Linked DNA regions of Homo sapiens: region 2 is linked to region 1. The links are contacts of gene promoters, found by promoter capture Hi-C in blood cells and fetal thymus (Javierre and others, 2016). All regions are on one chromosome and are shown on one strand. Each heading gives the region's core, a stretch centred on a gene start or on the middle of the fragment in contact. The rest is flanking DNA. Distances are from core to core; before and after follow the strand shown. Region 1 holds the start of RPS9 (ribosomal protein S9). Region 2 has its middle 8.5 kb from the start of LILRA5.

The links. The method cuts DNA at HindIII sites, captures the fragments that hold promoters and counts their contacts. A CHiCAGO score of 5 or more calls a contact.
Region 2: a fragment that was not itself captured here is called in contact with the fragment with the promoter of RPS9 in region 1 in 2 of 17 cell types (neutrophils and M1 macrophages); the score reaches 5.5 in neutrophils.

The regions. Positions count from the first base shown.
Region 1 is chr19:54,198,763-54,203,775 of GRCh38, reverse strand. RPS9 (ribosomal protein S9) reads right to left here and starts at 2,918. Exons shown (of 5, transcript NM_001013.4): 1 at 2,888-2,918; 2 at 2,495-2,616; 3 at 2,167-2,289. The coding sequence starts at 2,591. RefSeq lists a silencer at 2,605-3,098 and an enhancer at 2,861-3,530. The HindIII fragment of the contact is 3,345 bases long and covers 912-4,256 here.
Region 2 is chr19:54,319,134-54,324,146 of GRCh38, reverse strand. It overlaps the pseudogene VN1R104P. Among named protein-coding and RNA genes, the nearest start is that of LILRA5, 8.5 kb to the right of the region's middle. The HindIII fragment of the contact is 476 bases long and covers 2,849-3,324 here.

The sequences.
Region 1 (5,013 bases), core at 1,669-4,168:
GGGGAGTTCGTGTTGTTTTGTGTCTCGCTGTCACCCAGTGCAGTGCCGCGGATCTCGGCTCACTGCAGTCTCTGTCTCCCAGGTTCAATCAATTCTCCTGCCTCAGCCTCCCGAGTAGCTGGGATTATAGGCACACCACCATGCTCGGCTAATTTTTGTATTTTTCGTAGAGATGGAATTTCACCACGTTGGCCAGGCTGGTCTCTGACTTGAGGTCTCCTGACCTCAAGTGATCCGACCACCTCGGTCTCCCAAAGTGCTGGGATTACAGGCATGAGCCACCACGCCTGGCCTCTATCTGTTGATTATTAACTGCCAGCCAAATGTTGGCGGCTGTTCAGTCTTAACAGACGAGACTCAGAATCTCGCTAGTCACACATCTTAGTGGGAAAGGCAGGATCTGAATCAAGGCAGGATTACACCAAAGAGCAAACATCCAAGCTCCTCCTTCCTGTCCCTGACTAGGCTAGATGGCTTCATTTACTAGAAAGTGTACTCACCTGAACAACTGTGTACCCCTTGGGAATTTTCACTTCTGCCTTGGAAAACCACAAATAACCCTCAGACACCTGCACCGCTTTCTCACATGACTGTAAGTTTCATTGCAATTAGGATCTATGTCCAGAAAGTCCTCCCTAAAACCAGAACCAGCTATAGCCCACTCCCCACAGAACCCTGGGATGAATTCCCACCCAGCATCAGTATCTATGGGGGAGGGATCTCCAGCACTTTCATGAGATTATCAACGGGGTCTACAAATTGACGAAAAGAATGAAAGGGTCAGGTGCGGTGGCTTACACCTGTAACCCCAGCACTTTGGAAAGCTGAGGTGGATGGATCACTTGAGGTTAGGAGTTGGAAACCATCCTGGTCAACACTGCAAGATCCTGTGCCTATTTAAAGAAAAAGCTTCTAACATCTGCAAGCCTGGGACAAACTGTGATAATCTGTAGCTAAACATGCGCCAGGACTTTCTCAACGCCTAACATGGATGACCACTCTCATGCCTAACAGTCAGGGCTCAGGTGTAGAGACTGCTTTTCACCATAAATCATGACTACCCAAACTCAGGCAAAAGCAGCGTCTCAGGATATACAAATGCCAATCTTGGTCATGCCAATCTGCTGTAGAAAGCACTCCAATAACACCGCATCTCAGAGTAGATTTTAAAACAAGATGGTTAAGATGGTACATTTTCAATTTAATGTGTATTTCACCACAATTAGTAAAGTAAGCCTAAGTCTATGTGATCTGCATGCCCTCCTAAAGTCATCACCTGAAATGCTGTTCCCTGAGACATTTTACAGGTTCTCTCCTGTTCAGGCCTTTGCTAAATACCACCTAAATGTCCTTGACCAGCTTAAAAAAACAAGCACCAGCCTGGACAACATGGTGAAAACCCATCTCCACTAATAATAGAAAATTAGCCAGGCTTGGTGGCCCATGCCTGTGATTCCAGCTACTTAGGAGGCTAAGACAGGAGAATCGCTTGAACTCTGGAGGCGGAGTTTGCAGTGAGCCAAGATTGCGACAACTACACTCCAGCATGGGCAATGGAGCGAGACTCCGTCTCAAAAGTAAAATTAGCCAGGTGTGGTGGCGTGCGCCTGTCTGTAGTCCCAGCTACTTGGGAGGCTAAGATAGGAGAATTGTTTGAACCCAGGAGGCGGGGGTTGCAGTAAGCCGAAATGGCGCCACGGCACTCCAGCCTGGGCAACAGAGCAAGACTCCGTCTCAAAAGACTAAATAAAACGAGAAAACTTAATTAAAAAAACAATAAACCAAGCAAATGTGCAAACCCTGTTATCACCATCACTTAGCCCAGAAATTCCACTTCATAGTCTACTCTCATCCACTAGCAAACAGGCCACATAAACAGAATATAAAGATATAGACGGGTGCCCAGGTGTGCCAGGCCTATCTTTAGCTCTGGTCATTACTAAACTGAAGGTCCAATAACTGGGCAAAAAAGCCACACACCTAAGAAACAGGGCAAAGACTGATCCAGATACACTTTTCCTACTCCACAAGTGCCACTAAAAGTTAGAAGGCTGGTTCCATTTATCCAATGACACAACTCTCATCACTGGAACAGAGGCAACAGAAGGGAGAATGAACCTCACAAGCCCTGCACCCCATCCCTCTGCTGTGGACTCCCATACGCACCTTCGAACAGACGCCGTGGGTCCTTCTCATCAAGCGTCAGCAGTTCCCGGGCGGCCTTGCGGATCTTGGCCAGGGTAAATTTGACCCTCCAGACCTCACGTTTGTTCCGGAGCCCATACTCGCCTGGTGGGGAGAAGGGGGTGGACAAGTGTAGTCCCACGTACTGGCACAACAACTAGACTGGCAGCTTTGGAATCACAAAACCTTCCTAAACCACGAATAGTACCAAATTTAGGGGACGGACTAGATAGAGTACATGGGCACCTTCATCCACGTGCTAACCGCCTCCCGGAAGCCGAACCACTTCCCGGAAGCCTTGGCCACTCACCGATCAGCTTCAGCTCTTGGTCGAGACGAGATTTCTCGAAGGGTCTCCGCGGGGTCACATAAGTTTTGCGACAAACCCAGCTCCGGGCCACTGGCATGTTGGCTCCGCTTCCCCGTCTGCGCCTGCGCGGGAGAGAAGTGTGAGCGTAAGGGATCCAAACGGCGCCTGCGCAGTCCCACAACTACGCCAAAACCTCGCGGAGCCCAGATCCGATCTCGCGAGAATAACCTCCAACGCTCTCATAGTCAGTATCTGCCCCCACAACCGTGCTGCACTCCCGTTCAACCACCCTGCTCTGTTTCCTAACGTCTTTAGCTTACTCATGGAAACTCGGAAGGCCCGGGCCACCATCCAACCCAAACCCTAGAGAAAAAGCACACCACCGCACCTCACCTAAGCAAACCACCCGGTCACTGAGAAAGAGGCGCGGAAGCGCCACGGCTGCGCTCTTATAGTAACGCCGGCGTCTCGTGACGTTTTCACGCACCACGCACGTCAGAGCCAATCAGAAGAGGCGTTGGCTGGCTGAGAAGCAGTGGAGACGTGAGGCTGGGCTAGAGCGGCGTGCTAACCTGGGAGGACTAGGTTTTTTCCGGCCAGGGAGTGGAAACCTGAGAAGTAGGGAGAACCTTCCTTCTCCGCCCCTGGACGGTGGTTTTTCTTTTTCTTTCTGAGACAGGGTCTCGCTCCGTCGCCCAGGCTGGAGTGCAGTGGCGTGATTTCGGCTCACTGAGGCCCCGACCAACCTCTCGGGCTCGAGCGATCCTCCCACCTCCTCCCCAGTAGCTGGGATTACAGGCACACGCCACGACGCCCGGGTAGCATTTTTTTTTTTTAACAGTCGGCGTCTTGCCATGTTGCCCAGGCTGGTCTTGAACTCCCGGCCTCGAGAGAGCCTCCCGCCGTGGCCCCCCCAAAGTGCTGGGATTACAGGCGTGAGCCACCGCGCCCAGCCGAGATTATTTCTGTCACTAACAATAATGTGGCATTCTGGAACGCTATGTGCCACATACTGTTCTAAGAATTTTAAATGTATTTACTCAATCTTCAATACATACTTACAGAGCACTCTCAGAGAAGTTGCCCCCCCACCCATGGTACTATTATTATCAATAGCCACTTAAGGGGTATTAGTACTATTATCAGTAATTTATTTTATTTTTGAGACGGAGTTTTTCGCTCTCGTCACCCAGGCTGGAGTGCAGTGGTGCGATCTCGGCTCACTGCAACCTCCGCTTCCCGGGTTCAATCGATTCTCGTGCCTCAGCCTCCCGAGAAGCTGGGACTACAGGCGCCCACCACCATGCCCGGCTAATTTTTAAATTTTTAGTAGAGACGGGGTTTTGAACTCCTGGTCTCCAACGCCTGACCTCAAGTGATCCACCCGCCTCAGCCTCCCAAAGTGCTAAGATTACAGGTGTGAGCCACCGCGCCTGACCTAGAGTTCTCTTTTTATATATAGTCTGGTTATTGTCTGTCTGTACACCCATCTCTCCACTCCGAATGCGATGGTCTGTCTCCACAGCTCGTGTTCTTCAGTTGTCTTCCCTACGCTGCTGCCTCGGCAGTCACTATCTCCTCAGGAAGCAGTCCCACCCGCCCCTTTCTCTTCCACGGCATCCACACCATCCGGATGCCTGGATTCAAATGCCACGTCACCACTTGCCAGCTGCAGTGCCTTCGACAAGTTTCTCAATCACTCTGTGCCTCAGCGTCCTCCTCTGTAAAACGGCGAATGATGGTAGCGCCTACCTCATAAGCTTGTGAGGATTAAGTGAGAGTCTATCCAGTGTTGAGGAGAGTGGCATAAATAAAGCGCCTAGTGGTAGCTACCATCGTCATTATTGTCATCTGCATTGTACTTCCATATCTTACAAACTACCTTGTTCAGTTTTATGGGTTTTTTGTTTGTTTGTTTTGTTGTTTTGAGACGGGGTTTTGCCATATTGCCCAGGCTGGTCTTGAACTCCTGGGCTCAAGTGATCCACTCGCCTCAGCCTCCCCAAGTGCTGGGATTACAGGTGTAAGCCACCATGCCTGGCCAAATTTTATGCATTTTTGTATCTTGAACACGCGTATATTATTCATCTGGAAGGGGGAAACGTGGAAGGAAAAAACTTCCATAAGTTTTCACTCCCTTCAGGATGAAGTCCAAGCTCCACAAATTCCGGGTGCCTCGTGATTACAGAGATGGTTTTATAATGGTGGTTGAACCTGTAGGTTCTCAAGTCTTAAAAAAGATCTGCGTTTGAACCTCAGCAGTCACTGACGAGCTCTTGATCTTAGGCAAATTAGCCTCTTCAAGAGTGCTAAATGGGAGAAAGTAACAGGACTTTCCTCATAGGGTTTGATGATTTAGAGTAAAAAAAAAAAAAAAAGAAAAGAAAACCAGCACAGAGTCTTGTGTACTGAAGGTGCTTAATATCTTAACACAGCTGACTCTGTACAGTCTGGGGGCGAGGGGCACTGACCCCCAGCTCAGCCGAAAACCTCCATATAGGCTGGGCGCGGTGCCTCAC
Region 2 (5,013 bases), core at 1,837-4,336, 120 kb before region 1:
ATCTTGCTTCTTGCCTTCATTTCCACGTTTTTGATGTGGAGATTTTGTTCTTTTCCCATTCCTCATATTTGAGGGGTTTTTTGTTTTTTAATTTTGTTTTTAACAGTAGTAAACTGATAGGCTTTGAACATATTCATTAGTTTTAATACACTACCTATATTATTTGATTCTATAAATATTCCACATTTTGCCATTGGGAACTTTTCATGATAGACTTTATGTTCAGGTAACATGAATCTGATGGTATGTGGTGATGTCTTTGCTTTCTTGCATGATAAGAAGTTCTGACTTCATCTCCTGTATTTTCTCTCCGAATGTGGAGTCAGCTATTTCTCTAGGATGAAATTTAGAATTTTTGACCATACATATTTTAAGAATTAAACATTTTTGAGGGTGTATTCACTTATGTTTTACTATATATAGTCAAAATTATATAATAATATTAACTATATGTCACTACATAATATATAATTTGATTTAAAAGTATACATTTATTATATAATATGATAAATAATATATGCATTATAAAATATATGGTCAAGTAATTTTGCTTACATTCTAGTACAAATAATTCTTCCTTGTTTAGTAATGCCCTAATTTGATAGGAACTCAATTCTATTTCCTTTTTTAAGGTATTATCTTTAGATTTATAAGTTATATTTAAAAATATTTTATAGTATAGACATTCAGGAATATGTTTATATATGTATATATATATATTTTTAAACGGAGTCTTGCTCGTCGCCCAGGCTAGAATGCTGTGGGTGGCAAGCCACCCAGGTGCCGAGGCAAGAGACAGAGGACACGAGCTGTTCCAGTATAATAAAATATAAAACAAGAATAGTTATACCAGATATAGATCTTAGTTATGATTATATATGAATATCATTAATCATTTGTTTGTAGCAGTTACCCTTTATCCCAATATTATAATAATCCTCCCTCTGTAATCATAACCTAGGAAAAGCCAGGCCATACAGAGATAGGAGCTGAGGGGACACAGTGAGAAGTGACCAGAAGACAAGAGTGCGAGCCCTCTGTCATGCCCGGACAGGGCCACCAGAGGGCTCCTTGGTCTAGCGGTGACGCCAGCGTCTGGGAAGACGTCCGTTGCCAAGCGGACCGTGGTCTAGCGGTAGCGTAAGTGGCAAGGAACAACACCCGCTACTTAGCAGACTGGGGAAGGGAGTCTCCCTTTCCCCGGGGGAGTTTAGAGAAGACTCTGCTCCTCCACCTCTTGTGGAGGGCCTGACATCAGTCAGGCTCGCCCGCAGTTATCCGGAGGCCTAACCGTCTCCCTGTGATGCTGTGCTTCGGTGGTCACGCTCCTAGTCCGCCTTCATGTTCCATCCTGTACACCTGGCTCTGCCTTCTAGATAGCAGTAGTAAATTAGTGAAAGTACTAATAGTCCCTGATATGCAGAAATAATGGCGTAAGCTGTCTTTCTCTCTGTCTCCTCTCCCTCTCTGCCTCGGCTGCCAGGCAGGGAAGGGCCCCCTGTCCAGTGGACACGTGACCCACGTGACCTTACCTATCATTGGAGGTGACTCACACTCTTTACCCTGCCCCTTCTGCCTTGTATCCAATAAATAACAGCGCAGCCCAACATTCGGGGCCACTACCGGTCTCCGCGCATTGGTGGTAGTGGTCCCCCGGGCGCAGCTGCCTTTTCTTTTATCTCTTTGTCTTGTGTCTTTATTTCTACACTCTATCGTCACCACACACAGGGAGAGACCCACCGACCCTGTGGGGCTGGTCCCTACAAATGCAGTGGCACAGTCTCAGCTCACTGCAATCTCCACCTCCCAGGTTCAAGCAATTCTCCTGTCAGAGCCTCCCGAGTAGCTGGGATGACAGGAGTGTGCCACCATGCCCAGCTAATCTTTTTATTTTCAGTAGAGGTGGGGTTTCACCATGTTGGCCAGGCTGGTCTTGAACTCCTGATCTTGCGATTCGCCCACCTCAGCCTCCCAAAGGTATGTTTATATTTCTATACCAAAACAAGAAACAAGACACAATGATGTCAGTCTAGCTTTATTCTGTCTCCTCTGCACTGTTTTCTCTCTCTCTCTCAACTACCCACTTTTAAAGGTATTGATTAATCTTTCATTTTAAAAAATAGATTACAAAATACACACACAATGACATAACACTATACCATTTTTCTCTGGTTCTGAGTAAAATAAAGTTAACTGTTGATAACGTCCTGAATCTTTCTTTTTCTTTTCTCCCTGCCACCCCAACTACACAACTACACGTCTTGGAAGGTCAGCCTTCAAGATAACTCATTCATCTCACCCACAGCTGCCCAGGACTCCACTGTGGGGAGGCCCAGGAATTTATTGAGTCTTTCTTTGATTGAAATTAAGTGGGTTCAAGTCATTGTAGTTTTACAAATCATAATTTTGGAATAAATAGCTTTGTAATTGTACAAGTTTGTTCTTAATGTTTGTATTCACCTGGAATAATGAGTTTCGTGAGAAAAAGGCATTTTCTGGGTGTCAGGCCTCTGAGCCCAAGCTAAGCCATCATATCCCCTGTGACCTGCACATACACATCCAGATGGCTGGTTCCTGCCTTAACTGATGACATTCCACCACAAAAGAAGTGAAAATGGCTTGTTCCTGCCTTAACTGATGACATTATCTTGTGAAATTCCTTCTCCTGGCTCATCCTGGCTCAAAAGCTCCTCTACGGAGCACCTTGTGACCCCCACACCTGCCCACCAGAGAACAACCCCTCTTTTTCCTTTACCTACCCAAATCCTATAAAATGGCCCCACCCCTATCTCCCTTCGATGACTCTCTTTTTGGACTCAGCCCACCTGCACCCAGGTGATTAAAAGCTTTACTGCTCACACAAAGCCTGTTTAGTGGTCTCTTCACACGGAAGCGCATGAAACCGGGTACAGTGAAAACACTCAATTGTATTTTTCAGTCTACAGATTCCTCTGATGAAAATAGAATCAAACTCCAACATCTCCTCTAAATGGAGATGGTTTCTGTTAACTTAAATTGGAGTATTACCTTTCTCATTCAGACCGCTGCTGGAATCCTTGGAAATTCTCTACTCCTTTACTTTTATAGCTTTACTTTTGTCCCCACACAAATAGTGAGACCCAGAGACCTGATTCTCAGCCAGCTGGTCTTAGCCAACAACCCGGTTCTTTTCTCTAAAGGGATCCCTCAGACAGTGGCGGCTTTTGGATTGAAACCTTTCCTGGATGAGGCTGGATGTAAACTTGTCTTCTACCTACACAGAGTGGCCAGAGGGGTTTCCCTCAGCACCACCTGCCTCTTCAGTGGCTTCCAGGCCATGAAGCTTCACCCCAGTATCTCTGGGAAGATGGAACTCTGAATTAGATCCCCAAAGTTTATAGTTTTCTGCTGTTTCCTCTGTTGGATCTTGAATCTTGTTGTAAATATTTATACTGCAAAGTAAATAACTGACCCAATAAAGAGCAAAAACATGAGTATGGAAAAAATGTATAGATACTGCTCCTCACCCTATCCAGGAAGATCGCTGTATGTAATAGTTGCAGTCATTTACTGCTGCACAGATGGTATATGTGTCTCCCGTATATGTGTCTCCCTCATGATCTGCACCAGCAGCTCCATGGTCCTCGTCCTGCATAGATACAAGCAGAGAGTCCAACATGTTCGCAGCCGCAACCTCTCCCGCAGAACATCTCATGAAACCACAACCACACACACCATCCTCATCCTGGTGAGCATGTTTGTCTCCTCTCATGCTCTAGCTGATATTTTGTCATTGTGCGTAACCCAGATTCAGAATCCAAGCCAATGGCTGAGAAGTACCTCTTTCCTGGCGTCTGCAGGATTCCCGACATTCAGCCCCTTTGTGTTCATTGTCAGTGACGCCCGAGTGTCACGGTTCTACTTTGTGTGCTAGATAAGGAAGAGAAATGCCCCAGGTATGGTCTCTGGGCTATAAATTGCCTCCAGACCATTGCATCCTCTATTTAATCACTTCCTCCACCCCGGTGTTTGAAGGCTCACACATCAGGCCTGTGAAGGTACACCCACACGCTGCCCTGGCCATTCAGAATCCCCAAACCTCCCACTCTGGGGTATGCAAGTGCACAGCAAAGACTCCACTTGGGAGCAATTATGCAACAGCTTGTATTCAAGTAATCTCACATGAAATAACATTAAAATGAAATTAAGTATAATAAAACCCAACATCTGGACAGAGTTTATTTTTGGAAGAAGTTTAATCAAAGGCAGCCATAAGCATGTAAATAAATTCCAACTCATTTACTCATTGTAAATTATTTTTATTTGTAACATTTATTTGTAAAAATTATTTGTAAACTCATTGTAAATTAAAATATTAAATTTACAATGGACATGCAAAAAAAGACTTGTAAATAAATGCATTATGTAGTAATACTAATTTCTTTATTGGGTCTCAAAGGAAACTTTTAACTTAAGACACTTTTATTTTACCAACAAATAACAATATTTCTCTCAGAATTATTCTTTGTAACACCACAACGGCTGTAACCCATCCAACTTCACTCAAAGAAAGTGAAGTAAGTGCTCTAAAGAAAAAAATATCCTGGCCGGGCACGGTGGCTCACACCTGTAATCCCAGCACTTTGGGAGGCCAAAGCAGGTGGATCACCTGAGGTGAGGAATTCGAGACCAGCCTGACCAACAGGGTGAAATCCTGTCTCTACTAAAAATACAAAAATTAACTGGGCGTGGTGGCTCATGCCTGTCATCCAGCTACTTGGGAGACTGAGACAGGAGAATCACTTGAACATGGGTAGCAGAGGTTGCAGTGAGCTGAGGTCAGGCTGTTGCACTCCAGCCTGGGTGACAGAGCGAGACTCCATCTCAAAGTAAAAGAAAAGAAAAAGATGAGAGAAGCTCATACCTTCAGAACTGAAACATAGGGAAAGAGGAAGCAGAAATTAAAGCAAATCGAAATTTCATTGCGTCATACGGTCAGGAAGGCAACGAAACAAAAGTTTGCAGAAGGGCTAA